2 separate regions of the Homo sapiens genome follow, and region 2 is linked to region 1. Evidence: promoter capture Hi-C in human tissues and cell types (Jung and others, 2019). All regions are on one chromosome and are shown on one strand. The core of a region is centred on a gene start or on the middle of the fragment in contact, and the rest is flanking DNA. Distances in the headings are between cores, read along the strand shown.

Evidence for each region. Contacts are between HindIII fragments. The study calls those that stand out against the background at their distance.
Region 2: a fragment that was not itself captured here is called in contact with the fragment with the promoter of ASRGL1 in region 1 in 1 of the 25 tissues and cell types used here (hippocampus).

Annotation. Positions count from the first base shown.
Region 1 is chr11:62,334,344-62,341,676 of GRCh38, forward strand. ASRGL1 (asparaginase and isoaspartyl peptidase 1) reads left to right here and starts at 3,105. Exons shown (of 7, transcript NM_001083926.2): 1 at 3,105-3,231; 2 at 3,547-3,824. The coding sequence starts at 3,635. RefSeq lists an enhancer at 3,016-3,685. The HindIII fragment of the contact is 36,513 bases long and covers 1-7,333 here.
Region 2 is chr11:62,630,874-62,638,206 of GRCh38, forward strand. GANAB (glucosidase II alpha subunit) reads right to left here. Exons shown (of 24, transcript NM_198334.3): 5 at 3,948-4,127; 6 at 2,572-2,641; 7 at 2,311-2,398; 8 at 2,132-2,228; 9 at 1,692-1,872; 10 at 157-310. Among named protein-coding and RNA genes, the nearest start is that of GANAB, 12 kb to the right of the region's middle. The HindIII fragment of the contact is 6,117 bases long and covers 1,951-7,333 here.

The sequences.
Region 1 (7,333 bases), core at 1,855-4,354:
TAGTTGCGGCCAGGTGTAGTGGCTCACACCTGTAATCCCAGCACTTTGGGAGGCCAAGGTGGGCAAATCGCTTGAGGTCAGGAGTTCGAGACCAGCGTAGCCAAGATGTTGAAATCCCATCCCTACTAAAAATACAAAAATTAGCTGGGCGTGGTGGTGCATGCCTGTAATCCCAGATACTTGGGTGGCTGAAGCAGGAGAATCATGTCTGAGCCTCGGGAGATGGAGATTATAGTCAGCCAAGATCGCACCACTATACTCCAGCCTGGGCAACAGAGCGAGACTCCGTCTCAAAGAAGAAAGAAAGAAAGGAAAGAAAGGGAAGGAAGGGAAGGAAAGGAAGGAAATGTTAGTTGCTTCTTTCTTTTTTTCTTCTCTTCCTCCCTCCCACCCCCATTTCTTCTTCGTCAATCTCTCTAATATGCCTCCTTCATTTCTGACCCAGAAATGCCCAGTCCCTGCCCAGTCCCTCCTTTTCTGGTCCCACCTCCTCTCCCCAACTCTGGCATTCCCTAACCCAACCCTCCTCCTCCTAGAACATCCAGAGCCACTGTAGTTAGAATCACTTCCTTGGGGCTCTAGTCAACCTCCCCAGTCACACAAATGGGTTACTCCTCCCTTCAAAAATCCCTCTAAAATGATAGTAAACAATCTTAAAAAGAATACTACCCACAAAGACAGGAAGAATGGGAGAGATGACAATGGCAGGTAAAAAAGGTCACTTTGGAAGATGAATAACAAATGGCAGATTAAAGGAAGTTGTAATCTACTTGAGAGGTGAATCCATTTGTTCTGGAGAACGCTTGAGAGACTCAGGGCTTAGACACACAGGAATCTCAAAGATGGGGAGGCAGGAGTGGCAGGTGTTCCCAGTTGTCTCTCCAATAGCCTGTCACCCTTCCTTCTTGCCAAGAGACCTTGATTTTATCCAGGGCCATGATGTACCCTGCTAAAATAAAAACTCAGACTCTCTTGCCACTAGGGGCAGCCCCCCAATCCAGTTCTGGCCAATAAAAGTCCACTTGGAGGACTTCTAGGAAAGCTAGAGAGCTTTCCTGAATTAAAGGAACAAAGGGGAGCTGGCAAAAGCCTTCTTCCCTTTGCCCTTCCCCATTCCTTCTGCCCCAATAGTGATCAAGGTGCCTAGGAGCACCATAAATGTGAAAGCCACATGCTGAAGGGAAGAGAAGGAGATGGGACATCTGTGTCACCTTGGAGCTGCTGCACCAGCCTGGGCAGCAACCACTAGATGTCTTGTTGTTGTTGTTGTTGTTGTTGTTGTTATTGTTGTTTTCAAATCAACAGTTATCTGGTTAAACCACTGTGGTCACGTTTCGTCAGGGACAGTTGAATACAATCCTTAATCCATAAAATGATTGTTGATGGAACATCGTCTACAGAGGAGTTAGCCAGATTCCTTCTCCTATCCCACAGAGCCGGACAAAAAGATGCTTCCTCTTTCCTCCTCAAAGACCAGAAGTTTATTTTCTAGAGAATTTATCTAAGAGACTTTGGATTGGGATGGGGAATACGAAGCCCATCAGAGAAGTAGATAAACGCATGAGGCTGAGATGGGAGGATCAAATGGAAACCAACATTCTACCTGCTTGGGCCACCAGCCACCTTCCCCAGCCTCAGCCAGATCACTGAATTCCAGATCAATCAGGAAAAACAGTAGAGATGGGGTTTGAGTTAGGGCTAGGCATAGGGTAGGGTTCAGGTTCCTATAAATAGCTGAAACCAAATGATGGTGAGCTGTATTATGATGACACAACTAGGCTCACGACCAGTTGAGACGTGCTAAAATAACCCTCTTCCAAGAGGTGAGTGTGGGAGACAGAATAACGGCCCTCAAAGGTGTCACATCCGAATCTCCACCTGTGAACACTCCTCACATGGCAAAAGGGACTTTGCAGATGAGAATAGAAATTGTAAGAAAGGGAGATTATCCTGGGTTATCTGGGTGGGCCCAATGTCATCCCAAGGGACTTCCTTTAAGAAGGAGGCAGGAGAGTCAGAGTCAGAAAAGAAAATCGTGATGATGGTGACAGAGAGAGAAGTGACGTAGCAGCAGAAACAGGCCAGAGGGAGAGAGAGTTAAAGATGCTAGGCTGTTGGCTTTGGCAATGGAGGATGAGGCCATGAGCCAAGGATACAGGCAGCTTGTAGAAGCAAGAAAAGACAGATTCTCTTCTGGAGCTTCCCGAAGGAACTCAACCCTGCAGACCCAGTTTGAATTTCTGACCACCAGAACTGTAAGATAATGTGTGTTGTTTGAAGCCAATAAATTTGTGGTAATCTCTAACAATAGGTCACTAGAAAGGGAATGACTGATCCTTAGTGGGGTGCCAGGGAGAAGGCTTTGCAGGAGGGGTTCATTTAAACTGGGCCTTAAGGCAGGAAACGAAGGTAAAACAGGAGTAAAGGGAATTCCCAAGAGTGGTAAAATATGTTATCAGTTGTGGGTAAACAAGAAGGGAAAGGACTCTCCTATCCACAGGAGATCAATCACAGTTTGCCTGGATCTGTCCCTGTTTATGCCCATTGTCCCAGTATAATTTTTTTTTCTTTTGATTCGGAGTTTCACTCTTGTTGCCCAGGCTGGAGTGCAATGGCGCGATTTCCACTCACCGCAACCTCCGCCTCCCAGGTTCAAACGATTCTCGTGCCTTAGCCTCCAGAGTAGCTGGGATTACAGGCATGCGCCACCACGCCCAGCTAATTTTGTGTTTTTAGTAGGGACAGGGTTTCTCCGTGTTGGTCAGGCTGGTCTCGAACTCCCGACCTCAGGTGATCCGTCCGCCTCGGCCTCTCAAAGTGCTGGGATTACAAGGCATGAGCCACTGCGCACAGCCTAGCGTTGCTTTTCAATCTGCAATTACAAAATCGTGGCATGCCACTTCACGCTTCTCGCCACCAACCCAACCACCCAGCCCCTAGCCTGGTCAGGAGCAGGAGGTTCCCCGCGTGCCACCAGGAAGCTCGGGCCGGCCAAGAGCGTAGACTCTTGAGAGGAGTGAGACAGGTGCGCGCCAGCCGGCCTTCGGGGCTTTATGGGAACTGGGCCGTGCGGCGGTCCCGCCCTCGTGCGCAGGCGCAGAACCGTTGTGACCAGAGCGGTTGCGGGCTGAGCGGTTTCGAGCCGGCGTCGGGGAGCGGCGGTACCGGGCGGCTGCGGGGCTGGCTCGACCCAGCTTGAGGTCTCGGCGTCCGCGTCCTGCGGTGCCCTGGGTAAGTCGGCGGCCCTCCCGGAGCAGCCGCCCGAGACGCGGGAGGGCGAATGAAATAAACGAAAATAGACATTTTCCCGAAGGCGAAATAGACATCCTCCTTCGGCGCCGGGGCTTGGAGGCGGGCGGCGGTGGGCGCGGGTTAACGTCCCCGGGGAAACTGAGACCCCCAGCAGGTCCGGGCCGGGGGCGGAGAGGAACGCGGGAGGGCGCCGGGCCCCTGGGCTTTTCGTACCAAGCTCGACCGAGCCGCCCCTACCCACCCCCAGCTGCGAACCCAGCCGTTCAGAACAGAGACTGGGCATTGTCCCCACAGGGTCTCCCGAGGACCTTGTACCCGCGCGGCTTCCTTGGGCTGGCTTTGGACGACGCTTTCGCCTTCCTGCTGCCTAGGATCCGCCGACATGAATCCCATCGTAGTGGTCCACGGCGGCGGAGCCGGTCCCATCTCCAAGGATCGGAAGGAGCGAGTGCACCAGGGCATGGTCAGAGCCGCCACCGTGGGCTACGGCATCCTCCGGGAGGGCGGGAGCGCCGTGGATGCCGTAGAGGGAGCTGTCGTCGCCCTGGAAGACGATCCCGAGTTCAACGCAGGTAAATGTGCCTTTCAGCTAGTAAATAATGTGAGTCAGGTCAAGCTCCTTCTTCAGAATAAATAGAACCTACATAGTGTTAGGGAATCTAATGAGCTTTGGGGTGAAACTAAGTATGTAAAAAAGAAACAATATTTAATTTTTCTACCTGTGCTGAAAAGAGTCAAACGCTAAAATATTTGTAGAGATTTATACTGAGGCAAATATGAGTGACCAATGGCCTCTGATACAGCTCTTGGGAAATCCTGAGAATGTGTGCTTCTGGAGAGACATAAGATGTCAATCAGTACATACAAGACATACATTGGTTCCATCTGGAGAGGTGAGACTACTGGGGGAGGGGGAGTGGTTTCCAGGTCATAGTTAAGATTCAAAGATTTTCTGATGAACAATTGATTTAAAGTTTTGTCCAAACACCTGGAATCCACAGAAGGGAATGTCTGGATTATATAAGGACTTGTGGCTGCAGATAGAATTAATAGAAGGCGGTTTAGCACGGTGGCTCACGCCTGTAATCCCAGCACTTTGGGAGGCCAAGGCGGGTGGATCACCTGAGGTCAGGAGTTCGAGACCAGCCTGGCTAACAGGTGAAAAGCCACCTCTACTAAAAATACAAAAGAAAAAAAAAAAAAGCCAGGCGTGGTGCTAGGAGCCTGTAACCCCAGCTACTCGGGAGGCCGAGGCAGGAGAATAGCTTGAACCTGAGAGGCAGAGGTTGCAGTGAGCCGAGATCACTCCAGCCTGGGCGACAGAGCGAGACTATCTCAAAAAAAAAAAAAAAAACTGAAAAAAGAAGGGAATGTCTGCATTAAGATAAGAGGTTGAGGAGACCAAGATTTCCCTTAGGCAGAGGAAGTCTCCAGGTAGCAGTCTATTGAGAGAATAAATTGTAAATGTTTCTTATCAGAGTTGATTCTCTCCTGAATCAGGAAAAAGGCCTAGAAAAGGAAGGGGATTCTCTTCAGAATGTAGATTTTCCCCACAAGAGATAGCTTTAGCTTTGCAGGACTATTTCAAGATATGGCGAAGAAACGTAATTTGGGGTAAAATACTTCACTTTCAGGGCTTGCTATCTGTCATGTGATGTCATACTAGAGTCCCGCTGGAATTTGGTATCTTATTGCTACAAAGTCTGCTTTGTCAGTCTTAAGATCTGTTTTAATGTTAGTGCTGGTCAGCTGGGCCTGAATTCCAAAAGGGAGGAGGGAATAATGAGGCATGTCCTACCTCCCCCGACAAGGTTCCAAAGTTTTCAGGTTAACTTTGGAGTGCAGAGTGTATTCCTTTGTGTTTCGCTTCTTTCACTCAGTCCACCCTTTTTTGGAATACTAATCATTATAGCTAATATGAGTATCTACCATGTATCAGGCAGTGGTCTAAGAAATTTGCTTGATTTATTGAATCTGAACATTAAATGAGTTGATCATGTAACTCTCTTAAGTTGGTTAACTTGTGTTAAACTAACTCAAGTTAACTCATAATGAACATTAAATGATTCACTTATGAGTTAATCACTTAAACTCAGTTGAGTTAAATGAGTTAGGTATAAGTTAGGCATAATTATTATCCTCATTTCTCAGATCAGACTAAGGCATAAACAGATTAACTTGGTGGAAGACATTCATCTCTTTGTTTTAAAATGGCAAACCTAAGATCTAGGCTAGAGATTGAAATACTTCCTGGAATTATACCACCCATCTGTCAGGGAAAAGAATTTCAGGAAATCTTAATTAATCATCAAATATTTACTCTTGTTCTGTCCCCTTTACGCAGCACTCTTTAACACTTGTGAAAAATTGTGTAATTCTTCCTGAGACCGGTGCAGTGGCTCACGCCTGTAATCCCAGCACTTTGGAAAGCTGAGGTGGGCGGATCACTTGAGCTCAGGAGTTCAATGCCAGGCTAGGCAACATGGCAAAACCCCATCTCTACAAAAAAAAAAAAATACAAAAATCAGCTGAGCGTGGTGGCACAAGCCTGTAGCCGCCGCTACTCAGGAAGCTGAGGTAGGAAGATTCCTTGAGCCCCAGGAGGTCAAGGCTGCAATGAGCCAAGACTGCGCCACTGCACTCCAGCCTGGGTGACAGAGTGAGACTCTGTCTCTGAAAATAAAATTAAGTTCATCTGAATTTAAAATGAGACCTAATAGTGTGCTTTCATGGCTCCATTTGTAGAGCCAGAATTTACCAGATAGGCACTGACTTTGCCAGCAGAGGGAGCAGCCAGCTCTTTCTGTGGGTGACTTGTTAAACCTTACGCTTCTTAGCACTCAGCACCCCCTGGGCTGTCAAACCCTCACTTATTTACACAGGACCTTCATTTGAAATGGGTCATTCTGGTTTCCGACCATCTCTTATTCTAACAATTTGTCATCTGCATGCATTGGGAAGCACAGATTAGGGAATTGGAGCAGCTAGTTCTCATTTTTTTGCTCTGTATCCAGAGGCCTTCCTTCTCAACGTCTGCCCTCTCATCTTTCAAATGTCCTCTATTCCGCATATTGAGGAAGAAAAGAGTAGAGCTGAAAAGAGGGAAAGCAAAGATTATGGGGGGAAAGGTGGGACTTTTAACAGCGTACTGTGGACCTTGGCTTTTCCCAGCCAAGGTCACTACCGGCAAGCAATATTCCCAGCATCCTCTGCTATAATCCTCTAGAATAAATAACTGTTTGGGAACTTCATACAAAAAGCTGACTCCCAGTAGGTATTGAGTTCAGTGGCAGTAATTAGCATTCATGACACAACTTGCCTGAACATTTGTAAAAACATTATGTTTATTTACATTCTATTCCTGTTTCAGTGTGCATTTGACTTTATGTCAAATTGAAAAGTGGTTGATTTTTAGATACCAACACTGTAAAGACTGAACTTTTAAATTTGAATGCTAGGAATATTCTTTAAAAACTTACTTAGATTGGCAACCAAATGACCATTTGCTTTCACTGGAGCTCAGCGATATTTACACAGCACTTGAGATATTCTCTCTACAATTCAATTTACAAGCTATTAGAGAATCTTTGAGATAACAGGATTTTTTTTTTTTTTTTTTTTGAGACTGAGTCTCGCTCTGTCACCCAGGCTGGAGTGCAGTGGCACAGTTTCGGCTCACTGCAAGCTCCACCTCTCAGGTTCAAGCGATTCTCCTGCCTCAGCCTCTCGAGTAGCTGGGACTATAGGCACCCACCACCAGGACCAGCTAATTTTTAGTATTTTTAGTAGAGACGGGGTTTCACTGTGTTAGCCAGGATGGTCTTGGATCTCCTGACTTCATGATCCGCCCACCTCAGCCTCCCAAAGTGCTGGGATTACAGGTGTGAGCCACCACGCCCGGCTGAAAACAGGATTTTTTTCATTTATCCAGTCTCTTTCTGGACTTACAATGTAGAATCAATAAGGTAAAAATCTGTAGTGGGGTCTAGGAATTGGTATTCATTTCTTTGTTTTGAAGATTCCCAGGTGATTCTGAGATACAACCAGGTTTAGAATCTACTAGCCTAATACCATACAATTT
Region 2 (7,333 bases), core at 3,759-6,258, 300 kb after region 1:
CAGGCCCAACACCCAGAAACTGAGGGAGGCTTGTGAACTAGAGGCAGGCTGAGGGGTATAAACCTAGAAAACAAGCTGGGGCACAGGATCTCTGAAAACACATAGAATCACCCGACAAGAAAAGAGCAGAAGAATGAGGCAGGGAAAACCATGTACCTGTGAGACTAGCATATTGCCGGAAAACATCAGAGATGGAGGGCCCCAGCAGCAGGAAGACGTCAATGATGCCAGTCTCTGACATCCAGCGAACATCTGTCTGTGGGGTCTCCCCAGAGCCCTGCAGGTAGTCCATCATCTTCCCAAACAGGGTCTGTATAGGTGACCACAAAGGGGTCAGACACCTCCTGCCCTCCCATTTTCCAACCCCAAGACAAAAAGTAGCAATTTTCTCCCAGAGTCCACACAGAGCTGGCTCATGTAAGCTGCTTTCGGTAAGACTAAACGGGGCCTCTTCAGTGAGGCTTTCCTAGACCACACTATCTAAAGCAGTACAGCCCCCACCCCTACCCCACCAGTTTGGGGTGGTTAAGTGCTAACAAAGACTCTCTTTCATGTCTTTGTTAGCACTTAATCACCCCAAACTCATCTTGCATTCTTTTTTTTTTTTTTAGACAGAGTCTCACTCTTTTGCCAGGCTGGAGTGCAATGGTGTGATCTTAGCTCACTGCAATCTCCACCTCCCCAGTTCAACCAGTTCTCCTGCCTCAGCCTCCCGAGTAGCTAAGACTACAGGCGCACACCACCACACCCAGCTAACTTTTGTATTTTCAGTAGAAACAGGGTTTCACAATGTTGGCCAGGATGGTCTCGATCTCTTGACCTTGTGATCTGTCCACCTCGCCCTCCCAAAGTGCTGGGATTAGAGGTGGGAGCCACTGCACCCGGCATCATCTTGCTTATTATTTTTATTTTTCAAACGTTTTTATAGAGATGGGGTCTCGCCATGTTGCCCAGGCTGGTCTCGAACTCCTGGCCTCAAGCGATCCTCTTGCCTCAGCCTCCCCAAGTGCTGGGATTACAGACATGAGCTATCATGCCCGGCCCCATCTTGCCTCCTTTGTTATGTGTTTAACGTGTCTTCCTCCCTGTGAGTCAGAACCTTTCTTTTTTTTTTTTCTGAAACAGAGTCTCACTCTGTCACCCAGGCTGGAGTGCAGTGGTGAAATCTCCGCTCACTGCAACCTCCACCAACCAGATTCATGCAATTAACCTGCCTTAGCCTCCCGAATAGCTGGGATTACAGGAGTCCGCCGCCACACCCTGCTAATTTTTGTTTTTCTAGTAGAGATGAGGTTTCGCCATGTTGGCCAGGCTGGTCTCCAACTTCTGACCTCAGGTGATCCGCCCACCTCAGCCTCCCAAAGTGCTGGGATTACAGGCATGAGCCACCACACCCAGCCCAGAACCTTTTCAACCTCAGTTAACACTATATCCCCAGCACCCAGAAGAGTACCTAGCACGTAACACACTGATAATAAGTGCATTCCGTCAGCCCAGAATAGGCAATGCCTTCCCTAAGAATGTGAGTGAGCGTGTCACCTGGGAGTGATTAGGGAACTCAAATGCTGCCCACCAGGCCCACAGCCCCTTCTTAAACCCAGTCCCCAAATAGCTAATGCCCCTAGTATACCTATTTGCCTCAAGGCCTGGAAGCTTCACTCCCTCCTTTTTCCCCGTGCCTGTGCTCTCACCTTCCCGGCAGTGTTGGAAGATATATCAACCCAGGTCTCTGCAGCATTGAGCCAGAAGATGCCCAAGTCGCGATGAGGGTTGTGTGCCAGGAGCACAGGCACAGACCCATACAAGGCCATTGGGTTGTACAGCTCATACTGGAACACATCCAAATTGTAGAGGCGATATGGCTCCCCACCCCTGCAGGCAAACAGACAGACTTGGGCTGCTAACTGGCCCCAGGCTGCGTTATATGCTAACACCACTCCACAGACACAGGTGAGAGATAAGCAAAGGCTCCTCTTGTCCTTTCTCAAAAAATTTTCTATCACCAAAGGTGATTCTGGACACAAGAAATGACCCATGCTTGCCTAGAGTATCCAATATGCACACCCATCTCCCTAAAGGCCTGACTCCTTCCTGCCCACCTCCATCTTCCTGATGTCACCATAGGACTCACTCAGTGACCTTCAGCCTCAGGTTGTCTGCATGCTCAGGGATCCCATAGACATGCTCCATGCCTGGCAGAGAGAAGTCCAAACCCACAGACATGGGGCCTGGAAGAAAAACAAACAAGCTTCAGAGCTTCTGCTTGGAAAGGAGCCCTGCACCCCAGCCCAAGGAACCCGAGCCCCTCACCATACGGCTTGCTGTCAGAGTGAGTTTTGAATGTCTCCTCCCAGGCTCCTGGCTCATCTTTCTCTGCCTTCCCCTGAGTCTCCTCTGGCTGTTAAGAAGAAAAGAGGACCACTCTCCAATCATACCAGTTCTCTCTTTCCCCGCTCCCATCAACTAAATCCCATCCCTGATGGGGAGACTAAGTTCAAGTTTCTCATGGGCCTCTCCCCTCCACCCTCCCAGCCAGCCCTATCCTCCAACCACCCACCCGCTCCAACTTGCCTTGTCGCCATCCCTGGGTGTTTCCTCAGGCTGGGCCCCATCGCCCTCAGCTGGGTCTTTTGATCCTTGCCTGGAAGGTAGGAGAGCTGTCTGCTCCAATCCAGAGGGGGCAGGGACGAGGGGCTAGTGGAAGGAGGGGTTGGGGAATAGAGAGCCAAGGGTCCAAAGGAACGAAGGCATTGGAGGAAGGGACTAAATGTTAAAGCTTGGAGAGGGAACCCACAATGAGCAGATAAGTTTGCAAAGGATGGGGAGAGAAATGAGAAAGGAAAATGAGGAATAAGTGCCACCAGGAGGCACAGGCCTGAACACCAGCCTCTGTCAACATCCCAGAAGAGAAAGGCAGAATGATTCAGGGGCCTGGGTTATGAATGCCAATCCTGGCTCTGTTGCCTCTACTGAGAGATTCTGGCCCCAAGTGCTCTCCCTGGGCCTCAGCCTCCTGGCCTGACACAATGGCTTTGCAAAGGCATGTGGGTCATACTATACCAAGCCTCTACAGACATACATAGGGACTTCAAGAGATTCTGCCAAAAAATGCTTTCAAGGGCAAGTAGCTCTGCCCAGAACCTCAGGTGCCCCTCAGCTGAGAGTCAGGAACCCCAGCAATAGGCAGCATCTCTCCATCCCCTGGCAAAGCAATAAGCTCCCTACATTCCCGAAGGACCTGACTTTCAGTATCTCACCTTCCTTCTTCTGGGGGCTCCCAGCCAGGGTAACAGGTAACAGGACCAGACATCACACAGCAGGGGAAAGTGGGGTGAGTGAAAGGCTGGAAGGGTCTGGGGCACCTCCCCCCAAAGGCTAGAGTGAGGAATGGGTAAGGGCAGAGGAACAGATACAGTACCGGTGGCCATGGATTTACCTAGAGAAAAGGTTCTTGATCTTATCCCATATGCTACCAAGCGTGAGATTAACCTTATCCGAGAAACTGGGGCAGGAGGAGATGGGTAGGGAAGGGGAAAAAGAGGCACAAAACCAACACAAAAACAGAAACATAAAAGTGAGTTTCAGTCGACAAACTTCCAGAGATGGGGGGAAAAAGAAACCAAAAAAAATAAATAAATAAAAACGAAGAAAATAAATCTGGGAAATGTGATGATGTGAGAAGGGGAAGAAGGAGACACAGACCCAGGCAGGCCTCCCAGAGATGCCCAGGGTACAGCTCAGGGACAAAAGTGACTGCCTCCTGGTCTGTACAGGAAATGGAAAAAACCGCACCCGGGTCTGGTTCCTACCCTCCCTGACAGAGAGCTTCTCCCAGCCCCCAGGCCCTACCTGGCTGTCCCACCACCGTCTCCTCCCCGTGCCAGACCTCACAACACCCCTATGCTCTTTCACACTAGGTTCCCTGCAGTCCCAACCCCTGTACTCACGAGACCCTAGGGGCCCTCTGATGCTCAAACTCCAAGAGTCCTCGGGCATTGACACTAAGCAAAAGACTTCGGTCCTCTAGTAGGTCAAGGCGGAATGGCCGTGCTGTCAAGATGATCTTGTAGGGTCCCTCAGCCATGGTTAACTCCACACTGTTCTCATCACGACCAGAGACAGAAAGCCTGGGAAACATATCAAAAGAAATATAAGGAAGTACAAAGGGCCAAGAGGAGTAATGACACTTTAGAAGACCGGGGGAAATCTACCTGTTAAGAGAAATAGGCAGTGTGGTAACAGAGCAGGGATAGACAAGTTAATAAACAGAACCAAAGGGCCCAGAAACAGACCCAAGCATATTTATTACTTTTTTCTTTTTTTTTTTTGAGACGGAGTTTCACTCTTGTTGCCCAGGCTGGAGTGCAATGGCGCAATCTCGGCTCACCGCAACCTCCGTCTCCCAGGTTCAAGCAATTCTCCTGCCTCAGCCTCCAAATAGCTGGGATTACAGGCATGCACCACCACACCTGGCTAATTTTGTATTTTTAGTAGAGATGGGGTTTCTTCATGTTGAGGCTGGTCTCAAACTCCTGACCTCAGGTGATCCACCCACCTCGGCCTCGCAAAGTGCTGGGATTACAGGCGTGAGCCACTGTGCCTGGCCACTTATTACTTTTTTAAATGTACTAAATACTAAGAGGTGGCATAGCAGATGAGAGAGGAAAGGAGAACTATTCAAAAATGGAACTGAAAAAACATTTTCCATATAGGAAAAAAAATGATTTTCCAAATATGAAGAAAAATGATGTACTTCTTTTTTTTTTTTTTGAGATGGAGTCTCGCTCTGTTGCCCAGGCTGGAGCACAGTGGCACAACCTTGGCTCACTGCAACCTCCACCTTCCAGGTTCAAGTGATTCTCCTGACTCAGCCTCCCTAGTAACTGATATTACAGGCAGGTGCCACCACACCCGGCTAATTTTTTTTTGTATTTTTAGGAGATATGATTTTTCGCCATGTTGGCCAGGCTAATCTCAAACTCCTGACCTCAAGTGATCCACTTGCCTCGGCCTCCCAAAGTGCTGGGATTACAGGCATGAGCTACCACGCCCAACCCCTTGATATCATATTTCTATCTAATACCAGATACAAGTATCAACTGCAGAAAGATTATGACTTAAAAAATTTTTTTTTCTTAAGATAGTCTCACTCTATCACCCAGACTGGAGTGCAGTGGCACAATCTCGGCTCATTGCAACCTCTGCCTCCCAGTTTCAAGTGATTCTTGTGCATCAGGCACCCGAGTAGCTGGAATTACAGGCGCCCACCACCACGCCCGGCTAAGTTTTGTATTTTCAGTAGAGACGGGGTTTCACCATGTTGACCAGGCTGGTCTTGTACTCCTGACCTCAAGTGATCTGTCCGCCTTGGCCTCTCGAAGTGCTGGGATTACAGGTATGAGCCATCACACCCAGCCTGCTTAAAATTTAAAAGTAAAAGCTTTAGGATGGGCTCGGTGGCCCACTATTGTAATCCCAGCACTTTGGGAGGCCGAGGCAGGTGGATCGCTTGAGCCCTGGTGTTCAAGACCAGACTGGGCAACATGGCAAAAACCCATCTCTACCAAAAATACAAAAATTAGCCAGTCTCATAACCCGATCTCAAAATAAGTAAATAAATGAAAGCAAAAGTGTTAGAAGAAAATTAAAAAATATATTTTTGGCCAGGCATGGTGGCTCATTCCTGTAATCTCAGCACTTTCGGAGGCCGAGGCAGGTGGATCATGAGGTCAGGAGTTTGAGACCAGCCTGGTCAACATAGTGAAACCCTGTCTCTACTAAAAATACAAAAAGTAGCCGGGTATAGTGACGCACGCCTGTAGTCCCAGCTACTTGGGCATAGTGGCATGAGCCTGCAGTCCCAGCTACTCGGGCATAGTGGTGCACGCCTGTAGTCCCAGCTACTCAGGCATAGTGGTGCACGCCTGTAGTCCCAGCTACTCGGGAGGCTGATGCTGAAGAAAGAATCGCTTCAACACAGGAGGCGGAGGTTGTGGTGAGCCAAGATCGCACTACTGCACTCAGCCTAAGCAACAGAGCAAGACTCTGTCTCAAAAAATATATATATATATATTTTTTTCTGACCTTGGGGTAGATAAAGACTAAATACAACAAACAAAAGGCTAACAACAGAAGGTAAAAGACTGATACATCTAAATACATTAAAATTAGGAATTTCTGTTTATCAAAAGTACCTTTAGGATCATTAAGAAAAAGGAAAAGTCTAAGAAATTTTATCAGTCTAGAGGGCCCTAAGGAAACATGACAACTAAATGTAATAACATATCCTGGATGAAATCCTGGAACAGAAAAAGAACATACACAAAAACTAAAGAAACCTCAAGTATGAACTTTAGTAACTAATGTATCACTATCAATTCACTAGGTATCACAAATGAACCATAGTCATATTAATAATAGGGAAGGCTGGCCGGGTGTGGTGGCTCAAGCCTGTAATCCTAGCACTTTGGGAGGCTGAGATGGGCAGATCACGATGTCAGGAGATCGAGACCATCCTGGCTTGCCCAGCTTCAATGAGGGCTTCTTATAAATCACTGGTGGAAGTGTAAATTGGTAAACCACTTTGGCTTTATCTTGCGAAGCTGATCATCTCCATATTCTACAATCCTGCAATTCCTCTCCTAGTTATACACCAAAGAGAAACTCCCAAGCAAGGATAACAGGAGACATGTACAAGAAGGTTCGTAGCAACACTTTGGCTAGCAAAACACTGGAAACAACCCCAAGGCTTATCAACCTAAAAATGGATTAATCAGTTGGGGTATATTCATACAACATAATAATATGCAGCAGTAAAAATGAATGAACTAGAGCTATATGAAATGGAATTAAATAAAGTTATGTGAAAAACGGAAACCCAGCCGGGCGCGGTGGCTCACACCTGTAATTCCAGCACTTTGGGAGGCTGAGGCGGGCGGATCACGAGGTCAGGAGATTGAGACCATCCTGGCTAACGCAGATCACGCCACTGTACTCCAGCCTGGGAGACAGCGAGACTCCATCTCAAAAAAAAAAAAAGAAAAAACGGAAACCCCAGAAGACCACATGCACTAAGACACTTCCTCTGTAAAGCTCAAAAACAAAAAATATATATAATTTATTGCTTAGGCACACAGACATATGTGTGCATATGTATACACACATAATACAACTGTAAGAACAAAAAAAAGGCAAAGGAAGGATAAGCTTCAGAATAACGACTACCTACGTCTGGAGCCGTCAAGGGTACAGGACAGTGCGGGTTGGGCTGAGTGAAGAGTTTATAGGGTGGAGTATTTGAGACGGAGTCTCACTCTGTCGCCCAGGCTGTAGT